5 separate regions of the Homo sapiens genome follow, and all the other regions are linked to region 3. The links are contacts of gene promoters, found by promoter capture Hi-C in blood cells and fetal thymus (Javierre and others, 2016). All regions are on one chromosome and are shown on one strand. The core of a region is centred on a gene start or on the middle of the fragment in contact, and the rest is flanking DNA. Distances in the headings are between cores, read along the strand shown. Region 1 overlaps MTA3 (metastasis associated 1 family member 3). Region 2 holds the start of KCNG3 (potassium voltage-gated channel modifier subfamily G member 3). Region 3 holds the start of EML4 (EMAP like 4). Region 4 has its middle 20 kb from the start of LINC01913. Region 5 holds the start of LINC01913 (long intergenic non-protein coding RNA 1913).

Evidence for each region. The method cuts DNA at HindIII sites, captures the fragments that hold promoters and counts their contacts. A CHiCAGO score of 5 or more calls a contact.
Region 1: a fragment that was not itself captured here is called in contact with the fragment with the promoter of EML4 in region 3 in 1 of 17 cell types (fetal thymus); the score reaches 6.5 in fetal thymus.
Region 2: a contact is called between a fragment that was not itself captured here and the fragment with the promoter of EML4 in region 3, in 1 of 17 cell types (fetal thymus). The highest score is 7.5, in fetal thymus.
Region 4: a fragment that was not itself captured here is called in contact with the fragment with the promoter of EML4 in region 3 in 1 of 17 cell types (total CD8 T cells); the score reaches 6.1 in total CD8 T cells.
Region 5: a fragment that was not itself captured here is called in contact with the fragment with the promoter of EML4 in region 3 in 5 of 17 cell types (naive B cells, total B cells, total CD8 T cells and 2 more); the score reaches 10.8 in naive B cells.

What each region holds. Positions count from the first base shown.
Region 1 is chr2:42,657,687-42,662,585 of GRCh38, forward strand. MTA3 (metastasis associated 1 family member 3) reads left to right here. Exons shown (of 17, transcript NM_001330442.2): 8 at 2,077-2,176. Among named protein-coding and RNA genes, the nearest start is that of MTA3, 92 kb to the left of the region's middle. The HindIII fragment of the contact is 1,205 bases long and covers 2,787-3,991 here.
Region 2 is chr2:42,493,627-42,498,674 of GRCh38, forward strand. It overlaps KCNG3 (potassium voltage-gated channel modifier subfamily G member 3), which reads right to left and starts at 356. Exons shown (of 2, transcript NM_133329.6): 1 at 1-356. It also overlaps a transcript of MTA3 not described here. RefSeq lists enhancers at 1-58, 1,383-1,677 and silencers at 139-228, 409-458, 549-628. The HindIII fragment of the contact is 913 bases long and covers 2,130-3,042 here.
Region 3 is chr2:42,167,833-42,172,728 of GRCh38, forward strand. It overlaps EML4 (EMAP like 4), which reads left to right and starts at 1,521. Exons shown (of 23, transcript NM_019063.5): 1 at 1,521-1,804. The coding sequence starts at 1,780. It overlaps EML4-AS1 (EML4 antisense RNA 1), which reads right to left and starts at 2,399. Exons shown (of 4, transcript NR_110584.1): 1 at 2,138-2,399. RefSeq lists enhancers at 1,103-1,242, 1,255-1,907 and silencers at 1,323-1,372, 1,473-1,532. The HindIII fragment of the contact is 2,496 bases long and covers 1,066-3,561 here.
Region 4 is chr2:41,895,234-41,899,861 of GRCh38, forward strand. No RefSeq gene overlaps it. Among named protein-coding and RNA genes, the nearest start is that of LINC01913, 20 kb to the left of the region's middle. RefSeq lists an enhancer at 1,311-1,360 and a silencer at 1,491-1,540. The HindIII fragment of the contact is 4,455 bases long and covers 1-4,214 here.
Region 5 is chr2:41,873,450-41,878,476 of GRCh38, forward strand. LINC01913 (long intergenic non-protein coding RNA 1913) reads left to right here and starts at 4,106. Exons shown (of 3, transcript NR_033996.1): 1 at 4,106-4,329. The HindIII fragment of the contact is 6,409 bases long and covers 1-5,027 here.

The DNA.
Region 1 (4,899 bases), core at 2,139-4,638, 490 kb after region 3:
GGAGGCCAAGGCAGGAGGATTGTTTGAGTCCAGGAGTTCAAGACAAACCTGGGCAATATAGTAAGACCTCATCTCTTAAAAAAAAAAAAAAAAAAAAGGGCCCGGCACAGTGGCTCACGCCGCCTGTAATCCCAGTGCTTTGGGAGGCCAAGGCAGGCAGATCACCTTAGGTCAGGAGGTCAAGACTAGCCTGGCCAACATGGTGAAACCCCGTCTCTACAAAAATACAAAAAAAATTAGCTGGGCATGATGGTGGGTGCCTGTAATCCCAGCTACTTGGGAGACTGAGGCGGGAAAATTGCTTGAACTTGCGAGACGGAGGTTGCAGTAAGCCGAGATCGCACCATTGCACTCCAGCCTGGGCGACAGAGGAAGACTCTGTCTCAAAAAAAAAAAAAAAAAAAAAAAAAAAAAGATCTTCTAAATGCAAATTAAGACCACAGTCAAATACCACTGCCAATCCACCAGAATGGTTAAAATTTTAAAGACTGACAGTGCTAAGCATTGATCAAGATTTAGAACCAATACTCTCATATCCTGCTGGTGAGTGTGTAAATTGGTACAGCTCCTTTGGAATACTGTTTGCTGTCATCTAACACAAGTATCTCTTAAGTTTCACTCCTAAATATCTATGCAGCAGAAATGCATATACCTTTGCACCAAAAGATACGTATACAAATGGATTTATGGCACTATTCATAGTAACCCCAAACTGGAAACACATGGAATGTCTGTCAGCAGTAGAGTGGAGGTGGGGATGAGACGTCGTACAACGGAATGTCGCGTAACAGGGAAAATGAGTGAATACAGCTGTAGCTAACAACATGGATGAACCCACAAACGTAATTTTAATCAAAAGAAGCTGGACGTAATATCCAGCTGTGTGATTCTATTTGAGCAAAACTAATCTGTGGTGCTATAATCCAGGGTGGTGGTTCCCTGTGGAAAGGAGCTTGAGGAGCCTCTGGGTTGTGGTCATGTTCTTTCTTGAACTGTATGTTGGTGGCATGCATGTGTTCACTTTACAGTAACTATCTGTTTACTGTGTACTTTTCAACATGTTTGTTGTATTTTAATTAAAATATTTATAAAATTTCTTCCTTAGGGGTCAACCACAATGGCTCATGCCTATAATCCCAAAACTTTGGGAGGCCGAGGCGGGAGGATCACTTGAGCCCAGGAGTTTCAGACCAGCCTGGGCAACATAGGGAGGCCTTGTCTACAGAAAATTTTTTTTAATTAGCCAAAAAAAAAAAAAAAAAATAGCTGGGCGTGGTGGTGCATGCCTATAGTTACAGCTACTTGGGAAGCTGAGGTGGGAAGATTGTTTGAGCCCAGGAAGTTGAGGCTGCAGTGAGCTATGATCATACTATTGCGCTCCAGCCTGGGTGACAGAGTGAGACCCTGTCTCAAAAAATAAAAATAATAAAAATAAAAAATCTCTTCCATAGCAAACATGTTTAAAATACAGGCAGGAAAAGCAGTGAGTCTTCATTTTATGCTGTATGTGTTAAGGTTAGGGTTTCTTACATATTGGAAGGACTTCCAAATCATTAAAATCAGCATTATGGTAATTTCTTTTTAAATGAGATTTTAGTAGAAATCTGTTTCATGTTGAATCCTCACAGGAAGGGGTTGCTACAGTTAATGATATATTGGGGGAAAAATGTAACTGAGTTTTACAATTTGGGCTTAAAAAGTAGTCAAAACTTGCTTTGCTGTAATAGTCAAACTCTGCAGCTGACTTTTTATTTTTTGAGCCAATTTGAATAAATGTTTTACTCCATGACATGTTATAACAGAGCTTCCCTTTCCTTCTTTTTTACCCCCTGCACAGGCTATTTTTTTTCTTGATTTCATGATAACGACCTGTTTATAGTAAATTGGCTTGTCAATTATTATATCTTATAGAGTGAAAATTCTTTTTATTTGATGTTTGATTCTCATTCAGAAACTTGTTTTTGCCTCTTCTTTTACAGTTTTTTATTTACTATCCAAATGTGTTTTTTAAAACGTTAAAAAAACAAACCAAAACAGATACTTAATTCTTCCTTATTGTGTTTGTGGTTTATTCAGTGCTGTTGGGACATTCGCCAGAGCCCTGGATTGCAGCAGTTCTGTGAGGCAGCCTAGTTTGCATATGAGTGCTGCTGCAGCTTCCCGAGACATCACCTTGGTAAGACATGGTTTGAAATTTTGTGGGTATTTATCCTTCTGTTACTTGTTTAATTTTAAAGCCATTGTGGCAATACTGTAGACCGGGAGCTTTTGGGCTCTTAGCCTTCCTGACTGCTAGGTTGATTTGGCTTGGTTACTTGGTTGACTGGGTTATGATAACACTCGTCTGTGAGTTGAGAGTTTTTTGTGTCTGTTCATTAGAAAGAGGGGCTGTTTTTTTTTTTTTCTTTCTTTTTATATTTGGAGATGGAGTCTTGCTCTGTCACCAGGCTGGAGTGCAGTGGCATGATCTCAGCTCACTGCAACCTCCGCCTCCTGGGTTCAAGTGATTCTCGTGCCTCAGCCTCCTGAGTAGTTGGGATTACAGGCACGTGCCACCACACCCAGCTAATTTTTGTATTTTTGGTAGAGACGGGGTTTCACCATGTTGGCCAGGTTGGTCTCAAACTTCTGACCTTGTGATCCACCCGCCTCGGCCTTCCGAAGTGCTGGGATTACAGGCATGAGCCACCACACCCGGCCAGAGGGGCTATTTTCTATATAATTTTATTACATTATAGTTGATATCTTTTAAATCTATTTACTTTTTTCTTTCGGTGATCAAATGAAGCTTCCTATATTCAGTTTAATTTTACCACTAATGGCTGCCGTGGTCAGGCATAGGACCTGGCACTTACTGCTTTCTCTGCACTCCAGAAAAGTGGACCTGTGAGTTTTTTGCTGATTGAAGTTACTTACTGTATTTGATTCCTGTTACCCCTTGTGATAGGCACGGTAGGATGCTCATTTTACACACGAGAAAACTGAGTTTGGTGAGGTTATTTGACCAGTATTCATTACATGTAACAAAAGTTTCAATATTGTTTTCTAATGAAATGGAATACAATATGGGTTTTTAACTTTCTTATCATAATGCCAATTTGACATGCTTTTCATAAAATATTTATTTTGATAATGTAAGAACTCATAGAGGAATACACATCAGATAATAAAAATAAAGACAGGGTCTTACTATGTGATTGCCCAGGCTGGTCTTGAACTCCTCCTGGCTTTAAAGCAGTCCTCTTGCCTTGACTTCCCAAAGTGCTGGGATTACTGTTGTGAGCCACTGCTCCCAGCCTTGTTTCTTATGCATTTTGTGTACTTCTGTACAATTATAGATTGTGACTAAAGCTGTGGAACTCCTTGCCTTTTCCTTTCTCAAAGACTAGAATTGTTCATAGAAGAAAGTTTTGTTTTCTCCATTGGGACATTAATATTTTACCCCAAATTTTAGGATCTCCAAAATGGGTTTGTATTTCAGTTGTTTAGAGCTTCGAGAATATTTTATCAGAGAAGCAAGAGTACAGATGTCATGTTTGCAAGAACTTTAAAAATCAGATATTTCACTTTGGGGGGCTGAGGCCAGTGGATTGCTTGAGCTCAGGAGTTTGATACCAAGGTGGGCAACATAGTGAAACCCCTGTCTCTACAAAAAAATACAAAAATTAGCTGGGTGTGGTGGCATGCGCCTGTCTTCCCAGATACTTGGGAGGCTGAGATGGGGAGATTGCTTGAGCCTGGGAGGAGAGGTTGCAGTGAGCTGAGATCATGCTCATGCCACTTGCCCTCTAGCCTGGGTAACAGAGTGAGACCCTGTCTCAAAAAAAAAAAAAAAAAAAAAAGAAAAAGATATTTATGTGAACCAGAACTATGTGGAATCTAATAACTACCTGTATATATTTTTCCTGGTCAAAGTGATTTTTGCTCAATTTAAAAATTAATGTATATCTGTTATGAAAAATTAAAAAATAGTACAGCAGCAGCCAAAAAAAGCTTTGTTCTCATTACCCAGAGTAGAATGTTCTTACTGTTTTGTTTTCTTTAAGCCCTTTTTTATGCATTATACATAATAATAGCAAATTACAGAATAGTATAGAGGATAATGTAATAAAACTCCATATAAGGGCACCTAAAGCAAATGTTAATATTTTAGTTCTTCAGGTTAAAAAACTTTTTTTTCAACCATTATAGTTAATGTTGAAGTCTCTAATATTCCCTTCTGAGTCCTACTTCCCTTTACCTCTGCCTCCTTTCAAGAGCCAGCCACTGTAACAGATCTGCTATGTATGTAGTCTGTGTTTTTATAGTTGTATTATTTATTATTCCAAAACAACATAAATATTCTTTTGCATATGCTTAAATTTATTGTGTAACACTTGCCATTTGCCCATTATTGAGATCTAGCCGTGTTAATAAATATAAACACAGTTCATTCATTTTAACTGCTTTCTATTATTTCCAATATTCTTGTATATAATACTACACAACATTATTTATGTATTCTGTTACCAGGGAACATCTGGAGTGCTTTCAAAACGTTTTTCTTTTGCTGTGTTACTCATAATGCTATGTTGAAAATTTCACACATATCCCTTTGTGAGCATGTGTGTGAGTTTTTAGGCTATAACTAGAGTTATATTTATATATATAAATTTATATATTTCTTGTGTCTTGTTTTTTCTAATGGTTTTAAAGTTTTCTTCATATTTAGGACTGTAAATCTATATAGAGTTTAATTTTGTGAATAGAGTGAGGTAGGGATCTAATTTTTCTCATATATTAAATTAATTGTCCCAGTACCATTTATTGAATTTGTTTCTTCATGATTTGTAATGCCCCTTTATCATATTTTAGGTTCCTAGATATACTTAGGCCTGTTTATAGACTTTTAATCTATTC
Region 2 (5,048 bases), core at 1,336-3,835, 330 kb after region 3:
GGGCTCCGCTCCTGCCCTCCGCTGGCCCGGGGGTCCCTGGGCTCGAGTATCTCCGGCGCTGCTAGTAGCGCGCCCTCCGCCCGGCGGTACCTGCGGGTGGCCGGGGAGTCCTCGCCGGCGCCAGCGCTGAGCCCCACCGGCTGGGAACGCGGCTGTGTCCGCGCCGCCGACCCTCGCGCCCGAGGGCTGCGCACACCGAGGCCGCGGTGCCCTCTCCCAAGCCGCGGGGCCGACCCCCTGAGGGCTGCGGGCGCCGAATGGAGCCGCCGGGGCGGAATAGCTCCCCGTCTCCGGCGCTCCCTGCGGCCGCGAATCCGGCGGCCGCCCCGCCGCCGTCCAGAGGCGAGAGGCAAAGTGAGCGGGTTCGGAGGCGGCGAAGAGCCGGCTCGCGGCGGCGGGGGCGGGGCCTCTGTGCAGTCCTCCTCCTCGCCCGCCGGCTCCGCGCGCGCCGCTCACCTCCCTCCGCGCCGCCCTCCGCTTCCCGCCCGCGCCCGCACCTCCCCGGCTTGCTCGGGCTGGGATTCCCGGGCGCCCCGCCCTGGACCTCGGGCTCCCCGCCTCGTGACGCCGTCCTCCCCCTCCGCTCCGGCCCGTAGTGGCGGGGAGGGGTCCGCAGGGCGGGGGAGCGGGGAGCCCAGCGCCGGGATGCCTGCTCCCGCGTCCTGCCCTGGGCCATCGGGATGAATTGGGCAGTCCCCAGGGCCCCTTTTAACAGCCCTGGTTCAAAGCCCAGTGTGGACTCGGGTGCGGGGACAGACGGCGTTTGGAGAGCTTTTTCCAGAAACTGTCCGGAGCCCAGCTCGGGTTCTGACATCGCCCCTAAGGATTTCTCAGGGAAGGCATCCCAGCCACGGCTTTTCCTGCCGACTTTGCTCTTCCTACCGCCGCGCGGGGCGACCCACGTACCGCGTGCTCAGAGGGCGGCTACACGCCCCATCCCCCAGCCTCGGTGCCGCCTGCCAGCCCGCGGAGGGAAGCGGTCCCCGACCCGGCCCCGGCCCCCACGTTCTGGGGCGCGAGTCCTGAGAAGGCGCCTAACGTGTAGCGCGCCTGGACCCTCTCGAGATGCTGCCCTTAGAGTGGGATGAAAGTCTGGGGAGGAACGCCTTGTCACCGGCAAAAACAGCCTTTCTCTTGGTCTTCGTCTGCATCCTCCTTTTCAAAATATCTTGATTTCCCCCGCGCACCCCTGACCCGGCTGCAGCACCGGCCCTCCGAGCGGGAAGAGCCCCGTGAAGGCTCCGCAGAGCGATCTACCCCGCGCTCTTGTCCGTGCCCAGAAAGCGGGTTCCACTTGGCAGGGATTATTTTAAACTGCTACCAGCAATTCATTCACCTGACACCCGACACCGGCAGCCCAGCCCGCCGGAGGCGAGACAGGTGAGTTGTAAGGCGAACCGTGTTAGATGCAAAACAAATACTAGAAGAAAAAAATAAGGGTGGGGTAGGGTGAGATGCGGTCATCTGACCACAGGGTAACCTGGCTGGTTAAAGGGAAGAGTTTTTCATTGCCCTCTACTTTTCGTAATTTTGTAGGATTGTCCGGTGCCCGCTAGAGGTCGCCAAACGGAGTCCTTTTGCGCTGGTTCTTAAGTGGATTCCTAGTGAAAAGGCAGACAACTGAAAATGTGAGTGCTGTCTTTTAAGTAAAATCACTCTCGGTGGCTTCTTAAAGAATGAAAATCTCTGTGAGTTGTTTATCCCCAGACTTGGATAATTTATCTTAAGAGCACTAAATGTGATTAAAAGCTCAAAAACAGGAGTTATTTGCTACTTTAGTATCTACTAAATAGTTTGCTATTCAGTATCTATTTTGCTATTTAGTGTCTACTGGGTAGATACTGCTACTTTGCTGTTTAGTATCTACTAAGTAGATATTAAACAAGAAAAATATCTGTAAGAAAGTGAGTTTCAAGACAGAATTGGAGGTGCTGATGGCCATGAGTTGGCACAGAGAAAGGGCAAAACATTCCTAGTAGCAAAATCTCGAATGTGGAGGTTTAAAGTCTGTGAAGAAGTATAATGCACTTGCCCACTGAAACAATGGGGATCTCAACTGCAGCATTTAAATTGGATCCCATAAGCAATGGAATCCCTGGAGGTTTCCATAGCAGAAATGGCTTGATGAAAGCTTTATTTCAGGAAGATGCCTTTGCACTTTGGGTCATTCTAAGGAGAAGGTCATTTCGCAACCCAGGAATGGGATCCCCAACCCCGTGTCTGTGAAGATGAAGAAGGGTCTGTTCTGAGAAACGCTGAGACCAAGAACTTTGCAGGTCTTGAAGATGGATTTGTTGTAGGACGTGAGGATGGGGAAAAGTTTGCAGATGTGAGCCAGAGATGAGCCTGGCTTGATACCAAGAGCCAATTCATCAGGAAGCCGTTAAAAAATACTTTCTAGAAGCATCACAAGCAATAGAAGACAGAACTATAGTGCCGATTGTTTGCTCTAACATTATTGTAGGGTTTATTTCCTGTGTTCTCTCCGTAGAATCCTTCTACTGTCTGTTGATTGAACCAGTTGAAGAAATATCTCATTTTAAATTACATTTGAGCTTAGAAAACAAATTAATTTGATGACAATACAATGTGTGCCTCCTAGGTATATTTTCATGCGATTTCTTAGAGAGATAGGCTTAAATCATTTCATTTGTTTCAAGAGTAATATTTTTATTTGATTTTAATATCATCAACCACTGCTGCAGCAGCAATACCCAAATCGTTTTCTTAAACAAAGAAAACAGTGATGCAGAAATGATAGGCTTGTCTCAATATAATCTGGTTTAGAGAGCATTCTTAAAGCCAATTCTATTCTTTGTACTTTGAGAAGATAATGTTGAGAAGTATTACATCCAGATTCTCTCCTAGACTCGGGATGGTATTTAGGGTCTTCATATCTAAATCTTTAGAATGCATTACAATTTAAAGGTAGAATTTTAGAGTTTGAAAGAACCTAGAGGTTTTCTAGTTTCAGAACCTAGGAAAAAAAAAAAAAAAAAAAAGCAAATTACTCCCATTTTTTCCTCCCCTCCGAAGTTACAAAGCTTCAGAGATGTGGCTGTAACTAGCCCGAGCATTCCCAGCAGCAGCATCCTGGCAGAGGCTAGAATCAGGTTTTCTCATGTCAAACTCTGCTCACTCTGTTTCCAGGGCCTGGATTGCTGCCACAACCTTCTACCTCATCTCTTTGCACTCCAGTTCTTTCCTATCTCTATGAATTCTGAATAAGGCCACCACAGAGCTCTTCCTTCCATCCATTTTCATCAGGGCATTCCCAAATTCAAAAACCTGAAAGGTGGCTGGGTGTGGTGGCTCACGCCTGTAATCTCAGCACTTTGGAAGGCCGAGGCAGGCAGATCACCCAAGTTCAGGAGTTCGAGACCAGCTTGGCCAACATGGTGAAACCCGTTTCTACTAAAAATTCAAAAAATTAGCCAGGCATGGTGGTGCACACCTGTAATCCCAGCTACTGGGGAGGCTGAGGCAGGAGAATCGCTTGAACCTGGGAGGCAGAGGTTGCAGTGAGCTGAGATTGTGCCATTGGACTCCAGCCTGGGCTACAAGAGCAAAACTCCTCTTGAAACTAGAGGTTTTCAAAAAAAAACAAAACAAACAAAACCTAAAAGGAGTATATAAAAGTAGATAATTAGAAATTGTCCATACAATAAAGTCCAAATTGGCCAGGCGCGGTGGCTCATGCCTGTAATCCCAGCACTTTGGGAGGCCGAGGCAGGTGGATCATGAGGTCAGGAGTTCGAGAGCAGCCTGGCCAAGATGGTGAAACCCCGTCCCTACTAAAAATACAAAAATTAGCTGGGCGTGGTGGTGCGCCCCTGTAATCCCAGCTACTCAGGAAGCTGAGGCACGAGAATCGCTTGAACCCGGGAGGCAGAAGTTGCAGTGAGCCGAGATCGCTCCACTGCCCTTGAGCCTGGGTGATGGAGCGAGACTCCATCTCAAAAAAAAAAAAAAAGTCCAGATTGTCTATAGGGCTCTCTCTAGGCTCAAACCCTGGCTGTATAACTCATTTGCTAAGCCACCTGGAGCCAGTTCCTTAAACCTCATTGATCTTCAGTTTTTCTCCTCCGTAGAATGAAGATAATAATACCTACATCCAAAGGGGTAATGAAAAGATCACAAGCTGATGTGAAGGTGGTATATAGCTCAGTGCATGACACTAGAAACATCTCACTTCATGTATGCTTCCTTTAGCCCAAATCAGCCATGCTCATTTCTCATTCCTGGGTTCTAAATAAACACAGATTGGATAAGTGAATTGATTTGTCTAAACATGTGACCAACAACAGAGTAACCTGAAACAAAAAATTCAGTAAAAAGTTGTGACCCTTTTACTGCTGACTCTGGCTTGAACACAGATTCCTCCATCACTTTGCATTGCATAACTGGATGTGTTCGAGGACTCCAAACACCGTTTCCCCCAAAGCTTTAGAAATTGAAATACCCTGTGGGCACTACTGTTCCATGCAGCTTACTTATCAACTCTGTCTGCTTTAAAAAGCCCTTGCCCTGCTGTTAATTCATATTTTTCAATGTTTGCATTTACATCAGTTTATTTCTCAGCCTCTGCCGAATCAGTTGGTACTTTTAAAGACAGCTTTTCGAATGGAAATTCAAATGGAAACTTCTCTCATTTTAAAATATAAAAGGCTAATGACTTAGCCCAGTGTGCAGAATGACCCCTGTAGAAGGTGTTCAGAAGACCACCAGGATGGCTGAATGGTAGAAAGGAGAGCTTTATTGTTGTTATCAGTTTGCAAGCCAGGAAGAGAAAGTCTCCGGTGTGGACTGAAGGTGCTCTCTCTTCAAAGAGGGAAATAACAGGTTGGGTTTTAGGCCTCACAGGGCCTGTATCATACATAGTCAGCAGGCTTGGGGGAAAAGCTATACATACTTACGGGGGAGGCGCACACATGCATAATTGGTACACATATATGTAACATACATCGTGTTCACTTTGTGATGGGGCTTTAGCATTAAAATGAGGTGGAATTTGGCTCTTTATGTCAACAGGTGAACTACAGGCCACA
Region 3 (4,896 bases), core at 271-2,770:
AGAGAGTGTGGCCTGAAGACACAAAGGAACAGCTGTCAGAATTGAGAACTTCTCAAACATTTACTTAGGCTTAATAGAAACTTATGCATATGAAAATGCCCATAGCAGAAGGAACATTGGGTAAATCATTTAAGTTTGAAGAGAAGGAAATTTTAGACACCGTTTAGTCTGTAACCTGAATTTATCTTGGCTGCGTTATGGCCAGTCTCCATATAGTATGGTATTCAGAAACAGGTCTTATATCCAAATAAGAAATGCAAAGTAATTTACATTTTTAGGGAAGATTTTTAAAGAGGCAACAAAGGGAGACGTATACCCCAAGAAGGTTTAACAATCCTTTCAATCATTTAATTCCTCTAAGTCTCTCTCATCATTACATATTTCTTGTCTCCCTTCTTGTTTGTCCCTCTCTCCTGCAACTCTGTGTAGTAGGACTCTGTTTTCCCCTAACTCAGCTTTTTATTATGTATTTATCAATTTATTATGTATAGATCAATTCAGTTCTTCAGTACCTTACAGCTCTTCTCTCTCTTACTCTAATCTGCACAACTGAGCCCCAGGAGGGACTTGACAAACCATGAGAAAGTCTTTAGAAGTATGGGAAATCGTGTTGGGGAAGGGAGGAAGAATATGAACGCTATGTATATTTACATGTTTTGGTTACATGTCCAGACAACCAATTTGCAAATGAATAAAGTGACGCCTAAATAAATTAGGTGATTTGACACTCTTGAGTCATACGGAGTTGGGCCTAGAACTCAGTGTTACTTCATTTGAAATAACCCTTATTATGGTTCCCTAGCAGGCCATCCTATAGCCTGCCATATATGGTCGTTTTGCACCCCTAGACGACAGAACGCTAGGGAGAGTAAGGAAGGCTGAGTTTTTGCTTCTACTAGGTTCGATGACCTTGGGCAGGTTGTCCTCTCTAAGGCTCTGTGTTTTTCTTCATAAGAAGGGTTAGACAAGATGAACTTTTGGGTCATGTCCAGCACTAAAATTCCTTGCTTCTGATCTGTCCCGGGCCCTGCGGCTGTGGCAGTGGTGGTATCGAGCTAGTCAAGAAGCTTCGCCCCTATTTGTCCCCCACCCTATTGGGGGAGAGGGAGAACCTCTCCCTCTTGGTTGCTTCTTTAGTGTCCTTGTAGGACCCACGTGGTGGTCATCTCCCGTCACGGGGGTCCAGTCTTGGCTCTGCGGGCTTCCCAGGGGCCACATAGGGAGAGGATCCTTCATGCATCAGAGTATCGCAGGCCAGAGTCTATGCCTTATCCCCACCTGTTTGGAACCAGCTTCCAAACCGTGGTCCCCAGCCTTCAGCAGGCCTACCGCGCAGGCGCAACCACCAGCCTGGCGCGAGGCGGACAAACGCCGAGGCCGAGGCAAGGTGAGAGGGCGGGGCTGGCAAGACCCCGCCTCCGTGGCGTCACGTGGGAGGCGGAGTCGGAAGTGTGACGGCGTGCGCGGGGCGGGGCTACTGCTGCGCGCGGGCGCGGGGGCGGGGCGGGGCGCGGCGCGGCGCGGCGCTCGCGGCTGCTGCCTGGGAGGGAGGCCGGGCAGGCGGCTGAGCGGCGCGGCTCTCAACGTGACGGGGAAGTGGTTCGGGCGGCCGCGGCTTACTACCCCAGGGCGAACGGACGGACGACGGAGGCGGGAGCCGGTAGCCGAGCCGGGCGACCTAGAGAACGAGCGGGTCAGGCTCAGCGTCGGCCACTCTGTCGGTCCGCTGAATGAAGTGCCCGCCCCTCTAAGCCCGGAGCCCGGCGCTTTCCCCGCAAGATGGACGGTTTCGCCGGCAGTCTCGGTGAGTACGGCTGGGGAGTCCTGCGTCTTCTGCGAAGGGTAGGAACTTTTTTCCTTCCGCACACAGCCCAGGCCCTGCCCTCCCGCCTGCCCCTCGGGGTGGCAGCGGCTCCACTGCACATGTTCCCTTCGAGGCTGCCGCCCCTCCGCGGACTCCGGTGGACTGAGGGCCCCTCCCCCATGTCCAACTCTCCTCTGTGTCAGACCCTCCTTTCCTCCCGGAGCCCCTTTCAGTGCGGGGCCCTCGTTCCCCCAAAGTGGGAACCCCTTCCTTCTCAGGCCCCCCGATAGCTGGCACACCCCTCCCCGTACACTCACGGCTCCCTCCACTTACCCCCCTTCAGAGTTGGGACATTTCTTCAAATCCAGGCTCCTCTTCAGGGTACAACCTTCCACCACCTTTCCACATACACGCCTCTCTTTCAGGGTGGGGATCGCCTTCACCCGAACAGAGGCTCCTTTTTAGGGGAGGGACCCTCATTCCCTCTTCAGGAAGGGGGCATCCCCCGCCCCCAAGTCTTCACTTTAGATTTGAAGGCGACTTTCCAGTATCCTTCAGAGTAGTAGGCAACTTCCTTTTCAATCCCTCCACTTCTCTGAGCATTTTGCAGTGGTGGAGAGACCTAGAAGCATCGGAGCATCATTTGCTTAATGCAGGAAAGGAAGAGGTGCATCTGTGTTGGGGGACCCTCTTTAAGAGTGAAAGCAGAAGTGTTTTCTGGTTCTGCATACATGCTGGGGAGAAGTGATTCTGCCCAATGAATCAATAGGAAAGGGGGCCTCTATCAGGGAAGGAAAGGATTCTCCATTTTTGGAAGATGTTGTCTTTGTGGAATGGAGAAAGGGAAGAGGTTATTAAATAGGCTGAAGTGCCTTTTCAGTGTTCCTTTCACCAGATGAAGGTAATCTTCTGGCTAGGAAAATCAAAACTCCAGGCTAGTATTCGCTGCCCTAGAAGCTGAATCTGGAATTACTATTCTTCGAGGCCATTGAAATCTAGTAAAAGATTAAGTTCAACTGTTAGAATGGTGAGAGAAACAGTTTCAGCTTTGGCTGATAACGCAGTTGTGTGATACCTACTGCTGGAACTGTATTTTGAGTTTTTTATGTGCAGGTAGCTTGTATTCAGACGCCTTTCTTTTACATTTCTTGATAATAAGTCTCTACTTGGTTAATGTTCACTGATCAGTGAGCAGTCTGGCCATAGGCCGTACTATATCCAGATAATATCGAGATGAGATGGATTTTTAAAATCTAAAGTAAAAAAGTAAGTCAAAGAGCAATGGGCCTATTATAGATATTAAATAGTAAAACCTATAATTTTGGCCTTCCCTTTTTCTTGGGCAGAAAAAATTGTCGTTATATTGCTTTCAGAGTGGAAATCCTAAAATAGGAGGCAACTGAGTGTTGTGTTACTCTTTCCTCCTCAAAGGCACCTGTTGTCCATTATCTAACCTTTGATGTCTTGTAATTCCTTACTTAGGTTGGGCTCTTTTTAGAGAGACATCCATTTTTCCCTGGTTCTTTTTTAGCTCCATGCGTTGGTTTATTCACAGTAAGTGTTGGACCGAAAAACTTGTCCTATATGTCCGCTGAAGGGCTGATCTTATACTAAAGTAAAAATTGAGTGTCTTCTTAGGGGATGTTGTGGAGAGCTGTGCTATCTTTATACTGTATTGGGTCCTCATCCTGTAGGAGTGGTGAGATCACTTTAACTTCTTTCGTGTTGGCTCTAAAGATTTCTGGAGGGCTTGTTAAAGCTTCATCTTCTGTAAGTGTTTAGGAGGAGTCTTTCTCACCAGTTGGGGCACTTAATGTTTATTTTCAAACATTGATTATGCTTTGTAATAGCTTTCTTCTTTCTTAACCAGTTTATGAGGCAAGTGATACAAAAGACCGAGAGATGAAGATGAATTGCAGTTGGGGCTCACACTTTTCATAAAGAGCGTCATTGTTGACCCTAATGTTGGATTTAAAAAATTCATTTGATGCCATGCTTTGGGTGGTATGTGATGAGACTTTCCTTTAGATATGGTGTTAATCAGGAGCAGAGGAGATATGCCTATCAGAGGAACCTGCATCTGCAGAGAGGGAAGGAAATGGTTCCTGGCAGTATTTCTGGAGCTGTTCTTGATGAAGATACTTCTCAGTGGGAGCTCTGTGCTTTCTCTTTCTGTCCCCCTTGCAAGAGTAAAACTAGGCCCCATCTTAATTGAAACCTTAAAGGGGTGGGGGAGGAGTAGTGCTGGTATATTTTACTGGTAGTCTTTAAGCGGAGCTTTGCTCAGCTCTTGCCAAATTGCTTGTTTCTGTTCTCTGCAGTTAATTAGCCTAGAGCTTAGAGTTACATTGATCTTTATTTTACCATCAGGAGAGCCATGAATATAAAGGCAAGCACTTCTACTCTAGTAGGTGTTTAAAAACTTTTTTTTTTTTTAAACAAGAAGTCAAAACGTGAAGTTCTTCTGGGGTTACAACTATTGAAAGCATTTATTCTCAAGGAAGTATGTGTGTATTTCCTTTTACATATTAGATAGATTCTTGAAAAATGGTGAAAAAACTACATTTTTATAAGCAGAAAAATTGAGTACTTTATAAACAGAATAATTTTAGAGAAGAGATTATTTCAGAGAATCCTATGGTGACTCATTTTGTGAAGTGAAAACTTAAAATTCAAACTGTACCCTTGATTGTTGCATGTTTAGATAAGAAATCCACTGTGTTATGTGCATTTTATAAGATGTCTAATGGCAATTAAGACTAGGTAGTGGTTTTTTAAATCATAGGAATGATAAGTGATTGGCCATTTTATAAATGCCACATTGAAGTTACATGGTACTGATTATGTTATCTTTGTTTTACATAAAAAACAAGTGAAGAATTCTTTTAATCTCCGCAGCTGATGAATTTCAGGCAACTTGGCTGGCAGGTGCTTGTACTCTGGAATTTCCCTTAGGTATTATTAATATATCTTTTAATCCACAAATTATGGTAACTTAAGGCAGCACTTTAGAAACCTTTTTTTTTTTAAACTTAGGAGAGAAAAGTACTCAATTACCTTGATGTGTTGCCTCTAAATCACTACATATAGAT
Region 4 (4,628 bases), core at 737-3,236, 270 kb before region 3:
AAGGACATCAGACTGGAAGTCCAAAGTCCTGAACAAGAGCCTGTCAGCTGTGTGGGGCTGGGATTTCAACACCCATCTATGAAAAAACCAGTACCTGCTTGTCCACTCAGTTCAGCCACCCTCTATATGGAAATGAGGTCACTTAACCCCATTCCAGTCTCTAAAACCAATACTAATCCCAGTCAGCAGGTTAGTTAGAATGCTGCTCCTGGGGCACTTTATTTGACTCTCAGTTATGATAGCCTGGGTTCTCCCTGTCTCTGTGCCTGAGCCTGTCTTAGAAACGTAGCAGTCTATGTGTGGAGCACATCCTCAGGACTAGGCACTGTCACTGGTGCTTTATGTTTGCTATCTCATTCAGCTATTTCAACCCTATGAAGGAGGTTTCTTTATGCCCATTTTACAAATGAAGAAACTGAAATTCAGGGCAGGTAAGTCATTTGCCCAAAAGTTAGTAAAGGGCAGAGCCAGAACTATGAGTTGTGCTGTGGCCAGCTCTGTCTCCTCCAGGATCTGCTGTCCTGCCCCTGGACTGCCTGCCAGGACATCTGATGGCTTCTGGGTTGTCTGTACCTCTGCTCCTCTTGCCTTTTAGGGCCTCACCATACTTCTTGTTGAACCTTATCCCTGTCTCCTTCATGAACGACTCACTGGACTTCTACCATCCTGCATTCATCCTCCTGATCTAACTCCATATCCCAGCCCTCTGCATCTGCCCCAGCCTATCGTGCCCAACTGCACAGTGTCCTGGCATGGCTAGAGAGCAAGATCAAGCAAGAGAGCATCACCAGTGAAAAAACAAAAGCTCTGGAGTCAGACCGATCTAGATCCAAATGGTGGAGTGAGCTCCACCGTTTATTATTTGTGTATAAAAATAATGACACCCATGTTGCCTCGTTGTGAGGATTCTCGGTGAGTTAATACAAGTATAGGGCTTGGCATAGTGCCTGGCACCTAGCAAATGCTTAGTAAATATTAGTTATCTTTGCTGTTATTATCAATAATACTTGTAAAAGATCCACTAGAGAGCCTAGCATATGGTAGGCATTCAAAAAATGATAGCTGTTAATCTCATTGTTTAAGTCCTGGAAAAGCTACAGGAATTCAGAGAAGAGCCAGATAACAAGGTAGCAGAGACAGAAAACAGGCTGCCCAAGTAACTGCGCAGATCTGCAGATCTGTCTAATCCTAGAGCTTGGGTATGACTGGCCTTGATTAAGTGGAAACGCCTCCCTACAGAACTCCCATCTTCATCTGCCTCGATTAGGAGATGACAAGAGCTTCCTGAGCTTGGAAGCCCCTGGGAAGAGGAATTTCAAGAAGGAAAATCAGAAACACCCTGTCTGTGCTACGACTGCCCAGGATCCTCTGCTGTGGCAACATATATCACTGGCCACCCCACTGTGCCGTGTTCATCTAGTTGTCCTATATAGGTCTGTGGTTTCACAGGCTTCATCTGAGCCTGCAAGTTCTCAGAAAGTGGGTGAATGTGGTCAGAGTATGTTTCAGCCTCCCAGCCTCAAACCCACTCCAGGTTGAGATGTCAACAAAAACAGCAAGCAGGTGGGTAGAAAGCAACCATCAGATTTATAAAAGAGCTGTCAGATAACCACACACAGGCACTCACACTTGTGAGCATTTGAGAGCTGTGGTGCTGGTGCCCTCTTTTACCTTATTTTTCCTGCTGCTACCCTCCCAGGATCCTCACAACTAGATCCACCGATGCTCACAGCTCCTGAGTCAATGCTAACCAAGCTGGAGAGTATGTAAAGTTTGAGCAGATACAACGGCTTGGAATAATGTCACCAGCTCAGTTACAACTACTTGGCTCCTGTGTTCCTCCTGATTTTCCTTCAAGCCAGATGATCAATGAGGTGACAGGTATTTCCCCCAGACCACTCTCATTTCCCTTTTCCAATCATACATGGATCTGGTGCCCTCAGGGATGACCTCTAAGAACCCACATTCCTGCACCACGTTGCCTCTGAGCCTGAGCTCTCCTCTCCCCTCTCCTGGGCCCATTGTGATACAATCAGGCTCTTCTGTCCCTAATTTTGCCTAGGACCCAGTTCTTCTCTGTATAAGTCAGACATTGCTGTGATAATACTATGTAATAAACCATCCCATAATCTTAGTGGCTTACAAAAACAAACATTTATTTTCCTCACTCACAATCTGTGGGTTGGGTAGAAGGGCTGTGATTCAGGTGGTGAGTTGGGTACAGATCAGTTCCATATCTCTCTCCTGGAACCAGCAGCTACCTGGGATAGGCTCTTCTCATTACATATGGAAGCAGCACACAAAGGGGCTAGTGGAAGCCTCCCATGACTCTTAAGGCCTCAATTCAGAACTGTCTCGTTGTCACGTCCATCCATATTTCCATTAGCCAAAGCAAGGTAACTGGCCAAGCCCACAGCTGACAGCATGGGAATATAGGCTCTACCTCCTCTAGTAGGGTGCATGTAAAGCCATATGGCAAAGGGCATGGGTATATAATTCTATTGCAGGGAGGGAGTGGAGAATTGGAAATAATCATTCAGTCTCCAACATTTCTTAATCTAGAACTCAGTTACAAGCTCACCTGAGGGAATATACATCTTTTACTTGCCTGCTGGGCCTTCTACCCCTGATCCCAGCCCACTGGCCTAGGATGTGACTCTGAGTGAAGAAGTGTCTCACATGGAGACCCCGCCCACTTGGCTGCCAGTCCTTGGCTGTCACCAGCATCATTTACTCTGATCCACCCACCTGACTGTTCCTCTGGAATTCTTGAAGAAGCCTACCAGCCTAATTGGCTCCTCAGCCCTTATCTATACTGGCCTCAGGAGGGGCTAGAACCAAGAACTCAAAAACTGGAAAAACATTGGGGAACCAAGCAGTTTCTCCCACTCTCTCACTCTGCACTTCTGCTTCCTTCTCGCTGTGGGCATCAGCTTTCTCTGCTCCTCAATGGATGGTGGAATAGGGCCTGCTCTAGGCCTGGAGCCACTTTTGGCACCATCACCAGGATAAAGAGAATTCCAGTGTCCCATTTCCAGAGTCCCAGAGAAAGACCCCGGTCAACCATGGCTGGTATCATGACATAGAAACATGGTTGCCTACCCCTCTAGATGGAGGAGAAGAGAGGTGTGAGCTGCCAGACAGTAAGAAAAGCATGGAAACCAGAGGTTTCAGGCTGTAGTCTTCTGAGCTGACTCTGGCCAGAGATGTGTTTTGTTTGGCCCAAGGGATTTTTTTAATGTTTTCAATTACTTGACAAAAGTTAGAAATTGAGAGTTCACATATGAATCCAAATACTTTTTTCTTAAAAAAACTGAAAGGTCTCAATTGGAAAGGAGTGTGAGGGGCCTTATGGGTCCTGATGCTGTTCTGTTCCTCAATCTATGATCTATTCATGGAAAATTTATCAAGCCATATACTTAAAATAGATCCACTTTTCTATTTGTATATTACACCTTCTTTAAGTTTTAAGAATTTAGAAGGTCTATAATGAAATCACATTCCAGCAAGGAATAAGTCCTCTGGAGCTGAGTAGTTTTCCATACCACCATACCCCTCACTACTCCCCATTCTCTTCCTATCACTGAGGCCGAGGGTCAGTAGTCACTCATCATCGTCCTAGACTATGATTTTCTTATAACAGAGTTGGGAAGAAAGTAACTTTTATATGGACATTCATACATACATATCCATAACTCAAGCAAAAGGACAGACACAAAAGAGCATCAACGAGAGCTATGTGTTTGCATGTTTGCAAAAAAAAAAAAAAAAAAAAAAACGGAAAATAGCTTTTTATTTTTGGAGAAGTTAAAATCATTCTTCCAAGTTTGACATGCAAATGAAATGTGTCAGTATCAAAAGAATTCAAACAAAAAAGCTGTGAGGCTGGTAGGGAAACTTAACGATCTAAAAGAAAGTACTGATGTTTTAACATGTTTTATTTTTCAAAGCAAATAAAACAAATGACACAACTGTGAAATGAAGTTATGGAGAAGGAGAAAATATTGCTCATGCATTGAAACCTTTTATTAATGGTGAGTTTACAAAAGAGAATCTACTGAGGATAGAGAAATTCATACCTTGAACAAAAACAAGTATTTGCAAATGGAAGACTAAACAGAAACGCTGGTTGCTCAACAAGATGACGACATGGCTGAGAACTTACAGGACAGGTTGTGTGAAAAAGTTAAATCATTTGTGGCATTTCCTAGTGAAGCTTATGAGAGCCCAGTTAAAATAATACCACCCAGTCAGCTATATTTATTTATGGTTCCAAAGAGACTTCAATGTGATTGGAGAACTTTTGGTCATGGTGTCCATCACAGGCACAATTTCAGGAAATTACTTAGCTTTGTGTGTTGAGAAGCCTTGAAAAACTTAAAGCAGACAGGTCAAAATTAGTAAGCCTGGCTACAAAACAGAGCTCCTGAAATGATCAGCATTAACACTGACCTTGTTATGAATCTTAAATCTAAGGTGGCCAATTTTGCACAATTAGGGAAACTAAATAATTCACCAGGAATTGCCTTGTGCTAAAAAGTTAAAATAGAACACATATCATGGGCCTAGTGAATGGGACTTACTCCCATGGCTAAAAGCATAAAGAGTTCAGTGCTTTGCCTGATAAA
Region 5 (5,027 bases), core at 1,126-3,625, 290 kb before region 3:
TCTAGCCTGTGTTGACTCTTTCTCTTCACATGCACTGCACACATTCAGAGGCAACAGACAGAAGCTCTCTGCATTCCCACCCCCGTTAGCAGAGAAGAATATGACCGTAAATTAGCATAAAGATTCTTCAGAGACAAGGCACAGAAACAATGTATGCAGAATATTGGGGGAATGTCCAAAACACTTGAGCACGAACTGTTTCCAAGCTCCCATAAGCAGTTGAGCTGCTTCTATGTATCTACAAATAACCAACATGCTCCAGATAATCTTTCTTATTTATTAAAGGACACCCAAAGAGCCCCTCTGGGCCACTGTTGACTGATTACATCAATGGGTGGATGGATGGTAAATAAATAAACCTGGTGACATAGCTGGAGTTATTTGAAAACAACAAATCACTTTCCTTAAATACAGCCCTATGCAGACTTTCACTGATTTACACATTCCCCCCAAGGAATCTGCATCAGTGAGACCTGTGTTCATATTTATGTTTCACGTCATTTTAGCTGCTTATATTTTAAGATGACATCCAATATTTAGATGAAAAGTCAAGAACCCATCATGTTGAAGCATTTGAGTATCCAGATGGTTGGCATCAGTAGATATAAGCATTGTGTATCCATTCGTTGAACAAATATTTATTAAGTGTCTGCTCCATGCCCGGCTCTCTGCTAGGCCCTAAAGATCCCAAACTGAGTAAGATTGATGACTCAGTCAACTTCACAAAACCAAATCATCTTGAAGCAGAAGGAAGAAAGCAACTGTAACCTGTGCCATGGCTGCCACTGTTTTAGACACTTTTATATAATATCTCTTTTTGTTTCATGACAAATCTCCAAAAGTCAACCCTTAAACTGATGAAGAAACAAACTCAGAGAGGTCAGATAACTTGTTGAAGCCACACATCTAGCGAGGGTCACAGCAAGAACTGGAGCCCATTTCTCCACACAGCCCGATAGAGGGGCCTGTGGTGGAAGGCAGAAAGCAGACTACACTGACTCTGCCCCCCGCTGCTTGCATCTTTTCAAAAAAAAAAAAAAAAATGACAAGCTCTTCTGAGCCTCAGTTTCTCCATCTAGCCACTGGGATCACATGCCTCTGTCAGAGGCTAGTTGTGGAAATCAAAAGAAATCATATATGTGGGGGCTTCTGACTTTGGATCCAACATGCATTAGGTGCTCAGCAGATGTTTATTACATGGATGGATAGGATCGTCGAACCTTCCTCCACTCTCACCTCCCACCCGCAGTGGTCCTCTACACCAGCATCTGCTGACAGCAGCATCACCACACACTTCCAGAAGTAGGCAGCTCACGACTTCCTGAAGCACCCTGTTTTAGAACTGAAAGGCCTCACTCACCTGGCATCATTGCATTTCTGTGTGCCCAGACTGTACTAAGTGTGGAGAAGACAGAAGACATAGGCCACCCCTGGAAGGTGACAGTGTAGCTCTGGAGACAGTCTGTCCATTCTTGAAATATTAAAAAGCATTAAGAGGGCCAAGCATGGTGGCTCACACCTGTAATTCCAGCACTTTGGGAGGCCGAGGCGGGCGAATCACCTGAGGTCAGGAGTTCGAGAGCAGCCTGACCAACATGGTGAAACCCTGTCTCTACTAAAAATACAAAAATTAGCTGGGTATGGTGGTAGGTGCCTGAAGTCCCAGCTACTCAGAAGGGTGAGGCAGGAGAATCACTTGAACCTGGAAGGTGGAGGGTGCGGTGAGCTGAGATCTTGCCACTGCACTCCAGCCTGGGCAACGCAGCGAGACTCTGTCTCAAAAAAAAAAAAAAAAAAAAAAGGCAAGCATCAGAGAACTTTCCAAGATGCATCATCTTCAAGAACAAGAATGGGAGGCAGTGGAGGTGTGGCATCTCCTCCTTAGGATGCAGAAGCTGAGCCAGCCCCCAGGCCAAACAAGGGTGGCCAGGCCTCTCCCTGGATCCTGGTACTCACAGAACTCTTTGGTTTCTTCATCTCACTCCTCCCTCCTGCTCAGTCACATTTTGAGTTATTGTCCCATGTAATTTCTAAGCCAGCCAGGTATCCCGGCCTTGTGAGACACCAATCTTGCTCTAATGTTTTGAATGTGAACCATCATGAAAAAGTAAGAATGATTAAAAAGGAGATTTTGTAACTATTTATCAATGTCAGAGGGAGCAAAGTCTTTCACATTCTATCACTCTAGCTGGATATCCCTAAAGGGTAGGTGTTTAAGCTCTTGAATCTGGCTTTTCTTTTTTTTTTTTTTTTCTTTTGAGACAAGATCTTGCTGTCACCCAAGCTGGAGGGGGTCAAGGACATGATCACGGCTTACTGCAGCCCCAAAATCCTGGGCTCAAGTTATCCTCCCACCTCAGTCTCCCAAGTAGATGGGATTACAGATATGCACCACCATGCCTGCTTTTTTTTTTTTAAATATATAAAAACAGAGTCTCATTATGTTGCCCAGGCTGGTCTCGAACTCCTGGCCTCAAGTAATCCTCCTGCCTTGGCCTCCCAAAGTGCTGGGATTACAGGCATGAGCCACCATGCCCGGCCTGAACCTGGCCTTTTAGATTACCTTCCAGCTCTTTTGCTTCTAACTGGTAAACCTAGGCAAGTTATTTAACCCCATTAAGCCTTGATTTTTCTCATCGGTAAAATACTTCCTCCCTTAAAGGACTGTAATAAAGAAAAGAGGTCAGCGATCTGTGGTTATGGGGCCAAATCTGGCTCACCGACCGTTTTTGTGAAGGCCTATGAACTAAGAATGGTTTTTACATTATAAATGGTTGAAAAAAATCAAGAAAATATTTTGTGACACCTGAAAAGGATATGACATTCAAATGTCAGGGTCATAAAGTTTAATTGGAATATAGCCACACACATTTGTTTACATCTTACCTGTGACTGCTTTTCTGCTACTACAGCAAAGTTGAATTGCTAAAACCAAGATGTTATAGCCCACAAAGCCTAAAATATTTACTGTCTGGCTCTTTACAGAAAATGTTTGCCAACCTCTGGTAAAGAGAAAATGAAGGAATGCCTAGATGTGCCTATAATAGGGCAAAAACCTTTAAAATGTCAGCTCCGATTTTCTTTTATTCATGTCTAGCTCCTGTCCAGCCATGGTATTTATGCCACTCTGTATTTGCATTAGGATAATTTTTCAGATCATTGCAAAATATGCATTCTCCTACAGAACATATAGGGATATCTATTTCTTAAATGGCATTGCTAACACACAATGCACTGACCTGACCTCACAGAAAGAAAATGGAACAACAGAGGTCCCATCCTTCCAAATGTCATCCACTGGTCTTATCCTTATGGAAATAGACAGTACACGGATCTGGAATGGAAGCAAATAATAACCGGGTCTCCAGATTCCATCGTATCACAGAACATAGAACCAAGAAAGTACCTTAGAAGTCATCTGATCCAGTCACCCCTGTTTTACCAATGAGGAATCTAGACCCAGAAGAAGTTAAAGGACTTACCCAAGAGTACCCAACAACTCTCTCACCACCCCAGGCTCCCATCTTTGTGTCTCTCCTGTGTGAGCTGTTCCCTGAAGTTCTTCCTGAACTTGCACATTGCCTTTCCCTTTGATTTTAAATCCTTGGCTCAAATGACATGCCCGGACTATATCGTGTGATATGAGCTTGAAAAGTAATTTACGTACAAGTCTTGAAAGCAAATCAAGTTTTAAAACAAAGTAGCATCTACTCTGCCCCAGCCTTGACATCTTATTACATAGCAAATGCTGGCTTTTTAATTTCCCTAATCAAGACTGGTCCTATTTAGCCCACCTCCTCAAGGGGTCCCAGCACTAGCCCCACTCCGACGCCTGATGAAGTTCCAGAACAGGTGAGAAAAATGAGAGGGCCCTGCCCAGGGCTCTGGGAGTCGGCCCTCACTGCCTGCCCTTCAGACAGCAAGACAGAAAAGGCATTCATTTTCTTCCTCCACGTCATGATACCAACCGAAATTACCTTTAAATGAGGAAGAAGGTCATTATTTAATCAATAGGATTGCGTCAATTGAGGAAAATTTGTCTCCAGTGTAAACAAGCGGAACGTCTTTGCGCTCTATAAAAACAAGGTTAAATTACTTGCAGATCCGGGCAACGTGGAGAGATGTAGGAAGTGAACCTGAAGCCTGACACACTCAAGGTCTCGGAACCGAAAATAATAGGAATTGTTCTTATTTTTCCAGTGGAATCAAGCACAGAGATGGGCACGCCTCTTTACAGAACCAAAGATTCAGAACTGTGCCTTACCCTTTGCTTATGAGGCGGAGGAGGAGGAAGAGAAAGAACCACCGCAAAGAGAGATGGCAACAAAGGTAAAATGAAGGCCGGGCAGCCGATCCCACTCAGGCTGACCACAGTGAGGGAGCAGCATTAAAATGAGAAAGGATCAGGTCTCGAAGCCCAGCCCTTCCCGCTGAATCTCGTCCTTTGCTTCATCCATTCCATTAAATAAGTCATATTGAAAATAAATTATTATTAATACAACAGTAGCTAACATTATGGGGTCTCACTCCATGCCAAGCATGCCAAACCCAGGTCATGCACGGTGCTACTCGATGTTCACAGCAGCTCTAGAGGTGGGTGCCAGTCATGCCCACTTAGCAGATGCAGAGGAGGGCAGTCGCAGCTGGAGAACGGCGGGCAGTTCTGCCTGTTTCTGAGGCCCCACTGCTTGAACTGCCAGCCTCAGAGCCATCTGCTCACTGGGTGCTCAGCCCCGTGCTGCACGCTGTGGACTCACAGGGGGAAGTACAAGCTAGGCCTGCCCCTAGGGCATCCCCATATCCCTGGCAAGAAGGGGATTTGGGGCATTTACTCCTGTTTAGGGAGAGGCTCAGCTCGTCTGGGAATCCCTGGATGAGCAGACTCTGTGCCTGCTCCTCTCCCGTACCCCTTCCCCATCCATGTCAAGGGCTTTGGCCACAGCACATAATGGGTCCAGCGAGTCACAGTCTCTCCCGGAGGCGGCCCCAAAGACCCCTTACCCACACCTCCTCGATCGCTGCTAGGG